Regions from separate parts of the Homo sapiens genome. Here region 1 is linked to region 2. Evidence: promoter capture Hi-C in 16 types of primary human blood cells and fetal thymus (Javierre and others, 2016). All regions are on one chromosome and are shown on one strand. Each heading gives the region's core, a stretch centred on a gene start or on the middle of the fragment in contact. The rest is flanking DNA. Distances are from core to core; before and after follow the strand shown.

Evidence for each region. Contacts are between HindIII fragments. The CHiCAGO score rates a contact against its expected background, and 5 or more counts as called.
Region 1: a contact is called between the fragment with the promoter of FUBP1 here and a fragment that was not itself captured in region 2, in 1 of 17 cell types (total CD4 T cells). The highest score is 5.7, in total CD4 T cells.

What each region holds. Positions count from the first base shown.
Region 1 is chr1:77,977,335-77,980,672 of GRCh38, reverse strand. FUBP1 (far upstream element binding protein 1) reads left to right here and starts at 1,601. Exons shown (of 20, transcript NM_003902.5): 1 at 1,601-1,788. The coding sequence starts at 1,669. It also overlaps a transcript of DNAJB4 not described here. RefSeq lists enhancers at 1,128-1,187, 1,198-1,347, 1,658-1,787, 1,798-1,857, 1,868-1,917 and 1 more. The HindIII fragment of the contact is 9,300 bases long and covers 1-3,338 here.
Region 2 is chr1:77,566,498-77,569,538 of GRCh38, reverse strand. ZZZ3 (zinc finger ZZ-type containing 3) reads left to right here. Exons shown (of 15, transcript NM_015534.6): 13 at 1,073-1,207. Among named protein-coding and RNA genes, the nearest start is that of ZZZ3, 110 kb to the left of the region's middle. The HindIII fragment of the contact is 3,871 bases long and covers 1-3,041 here.

The sequences.
Region 1 (3,338 bases), core at 352-2,851, 410 kb before region 2:
ACTCTTAAGAGCTGCTGAAAAAGTATTTTTTTAGACCTAACCAAGTAAGACAAAATGCCACAAAGTCGAGAAAGTTCATTTTACCTCATTGTTTGTTATTTAAACAAATAATTTTGGAAAAAAAAAGTCACTGTGATATACTCAATAATAAAGAGTAAGACTTCTAAAGTATCCTCACGATTCCTGGAGCTTACTACTATTAACACAGTAAATTACATGCCACGATATGTTGGAGAAGGTCTGAAGAAATGTCTGGCATTACTTGGTAACTGAAGTACATAACATAAAATACCAATTTACACACACACACACACACACACACACACACACACATATATATATATATATACCTAGTCCTGTGATGACAATTCAGAATATGATCTTACATTTGAGTACCCACAGGATGGGGTGGGAGAAACTACGCCTAAGAAGCTACAAAATCTATTTTGGTCAAGAAACAATGCTGTTCTTAACTTAAGAGACCTTAACAGGCCGGGCGCAGTGCCTCGCGCCTATAATCCTAGCATTCTGGGAGGCCGAGGCGGGTGGATCACGAGGTCACGAGATCGAGACCATCCTGGCTAACACGGTGAAACCCCGTCTCTACTACAAACGCAAAAAATTAGCCCAGACGTGGTGGCAGGCGCCTGTTGTCCCAGCTACTCGGGAGGCTGAGGCAGGAGAATCGCTTGAACCCAGGAGGCGGAGGATGCAGTGAGCCGAGACCGCGCCACTGCACTCCAGCCTGGGTAACAGAGCGAGACTCTCAAAACAAACAAACAAACAAAAAAAAACCCTTAATAAAAATGGCCATGGACACATACATATACTAGGTTATTAAATCTGGCTAACACTGAACTTTAAGAACAATCACGTTTTTGGATAAAGAAAAGGGCAGTCATACTTTTAGAGCCTCATCCACATTATTTTAAACAAAAAACTTAAAATATGGTCGAGAACTAACAGGCTTCCAGCCTGAATTCAACACCCACCCTCGTGATAAAACTAAAAAATCGGACAGTCTGTAAGTAAAATACAGGGACACTTTACTACCCTGAAAATCATGCTGGGTTCCCGCTACGCCGGGCAGACGTTTTCAGGAGCATCACCGCGCGGCGTCTCGGACGCACTTCTCCTGGCGCCCTCCGGGCGGCAGCGCTCTCGAGACACTGTTGCTTCGCCGTCACGCCCGTCGTTGTCACGCCCTTCCCCGCGGACACCGAGAATGACCCATAGCGGAAAATTCTACCGCACTACCTCCCTGAGGCAGCGACCGGTAAGAAACAACCTTTTCTTCAGGCTTCCCACCACCCAAACACAGTCGCAGTCAACTGGCCACTATCACCCACCACCCTGCAGGAACAATTACCCAGCCTCACCCCAAGAACGCGCGGAGAGGAGGTGCCAAAAGAAATTCTGTTCTCGCGAAGTCTTAAACTTAATCCTCGCGACGTCTCTGTTCCTGTCGTTCTTTCTCAGCCCTAACCCACACCAGCGCGTTGCCTCGGAAACATCGCGAGATTTTGTTCCTTCAGTCTCCGCCCCTTTACGGCACGATGGTCGCGCAAGAATGTAATAGAGCTTCGACGGCCGCCATTTTCTTTCTTTCTTAGCTGTTAGCTGAGAGGAAGTCTCTGAACAGGCGGCAGCGGCTCTTATAGTGCAACCATGGCAGACTATTCAACAGTGCCTCCCCCCTCTTCTGGCTCAGCTGGTGGCGGTGGTGGCGGCGGTGGTGGTGGAGGAGTTAACGACGCTTTCAAAGATGCACTGCAGAGAGCCCGGCAGGTAAGTGTGGACCGCGCGGCGGAATCCCGAAAGCTCACGGTAATTGGCCGCTGACTGAGTAGGCCGCTACCCTTAAGCGCATGAGGAAGAGGAAAGAGGTGTTCTTCCGGGCTGAAATGTGAAGAGACACGTTTCCCCATGTTGGTAATAACGATTAGAGACCAGAACCCAGTTTTGTGTTCTTGGTGCCTAATCCACTTAGAACCCCGACGCGTGCTACGCAAAGAAGGCCTGAAGTCTTTCTCCCGCTTCTGCGGCACTCGCGTGTCTCCAGTGAGCTAGTTTAGATAAAGATCCTCTTCCAGGGGATAAAGCGCAGTTAGTTTCACACAATTTAATGGAAGGTTCTGGTAATGAGTTTGGGAAAGAACTAGGGTCTGTCCTGGAGCCATAGCAAGGGAAGGGATTTATCATTAAAGTAGCCTTTACAGCTCATTTCCGTTCTCTCTCGCAATTAAAACCGCTTTCAGTACCATTCACCGTCACACCTCTACAAGGAAGGGACTTGAAAGCAGCCTTTTTCTGGGCGGGATTTACGTGTCAGTCTGTTCCACCAGTCCGCCCCCCTTATTTCTCAAAATGGCCTCAGGCCCATTATACCAGAGGTTTCAATTTGAATCTGCCTCTCAGTTCAGAGTCGTAAACTGACCAGACCTCTTTGTATTACGTAGTGCGTGCATTTGCCCTGAAGGCACCACTTTCCCAGACGAAAGCTGTTAAAATAGTGCGTGTATTCCAGGAAAATAAAAGATACCTTAATTTGAACTTTACATTCTTAGATAGTCCCCTAATATATTTAACATTTCAAAATGTATGGTGTTGGTATAGATTTGCATGTAAGCAAAAGAATCCTATTCTCTGTGACACTATGCATATTGTACTAGGTGCTGGGCATTTTTTACTAGTTTTAAGCTAATGATAATTAGAAACCAGTGTTGTGCTGTGTTTTCGTTGCATTAGGAGTTCACTTAGTTAACTTTTTACCGGGACAGTTGAAGGAACATTGAGTCAAAATTAGAATTCATAAAATCCGTTGTAACACATCTAATGTGAACGCATTATAAACATGTACCTGTACTTTTTTATAACCAGAAATACTAGGAGTAGTCAACAAAAGGTCATCATTAATATTAGTTCTGCGGTTTTTTCCACGTAATTTAAGAAATTCTGAACATGTTTAGCAACAAGCATATAACTATGACAAACACTCTTAGCGTGTTTTATTAGATTGATTTGTAAAACTTAAGGGAACTATTTTATTTACTGGAACCAACTATTTTATTTTACCAGAACCAGCACATTGGATTAATTGGTATCGCACACTGTAGGTAGATACTGGAGTTTTGTTTTGTTTTGTTTGAGACGGAGTCTCCCTCTGTCGCCCAGACTGGAGTGCAGTGGTGCGATCTCGTCCCACTGCAACCTCTGCCTCCCGGCTTCAAGCAATTCTCCTGCCTCAGCCTCCCGAGTAGCTGGGATTACAGGCGCCCGCCACCATGCCCGGCTAATTTTTTGTGTTTTTTTTGTTTGTTTGTTTGTTTTCAGTAGAG
Region 2 (3,041 bases), core at 505-3,004:
CACAGTGTTGTCAGCAATTTTAAATAGACAAATTTTGCATGTTAATACTTTGAGTAGAAAGCTACTTGTCAATTTGGGAGGTGGGGGATGGTCCCGAACATATGTATCTAAAAGTTCGGAATCATAAATAGACTTTATACCTTGAAGGCCAGTTTATTAAGGGATACTTCAACTTAATACATTTATTTTATTTTTTAATTTTGAGACGGAGTCTCACTCTGTCTCCCAGGCTGGAGTGCAGTGGCACAGTCTTGGCTCACTGCAACCTCCGCCTCCCAGGTGCAAGCAATTCTCCTGCCTCAGCTTCCCGAGTAGCTGGTATTACAGGTGCGTGCCACCATGCCCAACTAATTTTTGTATTTTTAGTAGAGACAGGCTTTTGCCATGTTGGCTAGGCTGGTCTTGAACTCCTGACCTAAAGTGATCCGTCCACCTCGGCCTCCCAAAGTGCTGGGATTACAGGTATAAGCCACTGCACCTAGCCTACTTAATACATTTATATAGTTTTTACTGTTTATGTCTCTTACAGTCCATTCTAAATAGTCGTCTTTGTAACTCAGTTCATCTTGTTGAGTAGGAGAGAAATGTTCTACTTTGATCATTGGGAGTACAGAGCAAAAAACAAGAGCAGAGGTTGGTTTGCTTGTTATTAAGAAAGTGTCATGTTTACAGGAGCAAATGTAAAAATCTGTTAGATTGGAGAAGAGGAACTTCCTTAAATGAGGGAGAAGTAGATTACAAGTCACTCAAGTAACCGTGAAAATATAAAGATGGGATTGGGTTTGCAATAGTGTGTGACAGAGGTGGTAATCATGGCCGTGCTTCCCTTTTACCTGCATTGAAGTAGTCTGCTACAATTCAGAATTACTGTTGTGTTAAAAAAAAAAAAAAAAAAAAGTCCAAAAGCATTAGTGGAAAATACTGCTAATAACAGCACTAATTTTCTATGAGTACTAAGAGATATTTTAAAAATGAAAAATATCAGTAGAAAAATATTCTGTATCAGTATTACTTACACTTAATTCATTTTAATTACCAAACCAACATTTTTTTTTTTTTTTTTTTTTGATAGGATGACGAAAGTATTCCTATCATGTATAGGAATTTACCTGAATATAAAGAACTATTACAGTTTAAAAAGTTAAAGAAGCAGAAACTTCAGCAAATGCAAGCTGAAAGTGGATTTGTGCAACATGTGGGCTTTAAGGTAAGTTCTATTTAATTTTAGGATTCATTTCATTTTATTTATTTATTTATTTAGAGACAGAGTCTCACTCTGTTGCCCAGGCTGGAGTGCAGTGGCGTGATCTCAGCTTACTGCAACCTCTGCCTCCCGGGTTCAAGCGATTCTCGTGTCTCAGCCACCCAAGTAGCTGGGATTACAGGTGTGTGCCACTATACCCAGCTAATTTTTGTATTTTTAATAGAGATGGGGGTTTCACCATGTTGGCCAGGCTGCAGTATTCATTTAATTTTAAAAGGGTGATAAGAGATACTTTAAAGTGGTTTCTGTAGTGTTAAACTCCAGAATTGCTAAGCATGTAGGAAAAAGTTATCTTTTATCCCATTCATTTATGCAAAGCAGTGGTGCCATCGTTCCTGATGTGAAGAGTTTATTATTTAGTAGAGTGAAGACAGACATACAGGTAGCTATCAATTGAGGTAAAATGTGAGGGGCTTTTGTTTAGCCGTTTCTCTTTTTGTTGCTGTTGTTCATGGGTCAGAAATGGGTTTTTTTCCCTTTCTGATTGAGAGGCTAATAGAAATGCATATACTCATTCTGCAGAATTTTGTAATACACATTATGTTCCAGTCACTTTGCTAAGTGCTAGAGATTCAGCAGTAAACAAGACAGACTCAGTTCTTGCCCTTACTCTGTTTTCATTCTCATAAGGAATTTAGAGAAGTTAAACAAAATAGTTGAGCGTGGCTAGAGTACATACTAGAGAGTAGTTAGAGGCTGCTTGCACCGCCTTATAAATTTTGCCAAGGAGCTCACACTATCCTGAGAGGTTGGTGGGGGGAACCATTGAATGATTTTAAGCAGAAAGTAACATGACATTTACGTTTTGGAAAGAATCATTCTAGTTACTTAAACTATTGGGGGTGATGATCTTTAGGAAAGCAGTGGGTTTGGAACTGACCAGCTTTTCCCCTCATCATTTTGGCCATAGTATGGAAACTTAATTAGAGGAAGGCAAGACTAGAGTCAAGGAAACTGGTTAGAGATTCTTTTGATAATTTAGACAAAAGAGGAGGGTGTCCTGAACTTGACTGGTGGCCATGGAAATAAAGATTGGCAAGTTTGAGAAGCCTTTAGGCATTAGAATTGACTTGGTTGGACTGGAGGAAGTAATAATGAGACCATAAACTTGGTGGTGTTGGTGGGTGCACATGAAAGTACTGATGTGTGCTGTGACTGGTAAACCAAATTAAAAACAAAGTTATACCTTTGATCCTCTAGAGTAGCCAGTAACCATACTATATTAAATGATTTTCCCTCTTGATCTTTCAGTGACCCTGTTTCTCCAATAGAGATTTTCCTAACTGGCAGCTCTGGCCTTTCAGAAAAACTTGCTTCACTTCTCCTAATTTTGCTGCAAAACCCAGCCATGGCTTGTTTGCCATTCTGTCAGCCACTATAGTTGACCAGATGATCAAAGAAACTAGAAATGATAGATCCTTTGATTTCCAAAAGTGCACAGAACACACTGAGGACTGTCACAATGCCACCACGCTGAGAAAGAGCTAGATCTGCCTTTTTGACATGATGGGCATTGGTTATTAGGAGTCTTTAGGCTTTGGGAGAGCGATTCAATAAGAGATAAAAGTTTAGACAGAATTTCATTGTTGCCTGGGTTTATGTTAGCCAAGAGAACCTGCTAAAACAATTCTGTATCAATTACCAACAGTGAAGCACTACAGGAGGCAGCTGTGGCATTGCTTCCTTAACCAGTATTTGGATAGTTTTAACTATGGTATTAACTCTCTGTTTCTCAACCATAGTCATCATACAGTGGTCTGAGGTACCTTTCAAGTAG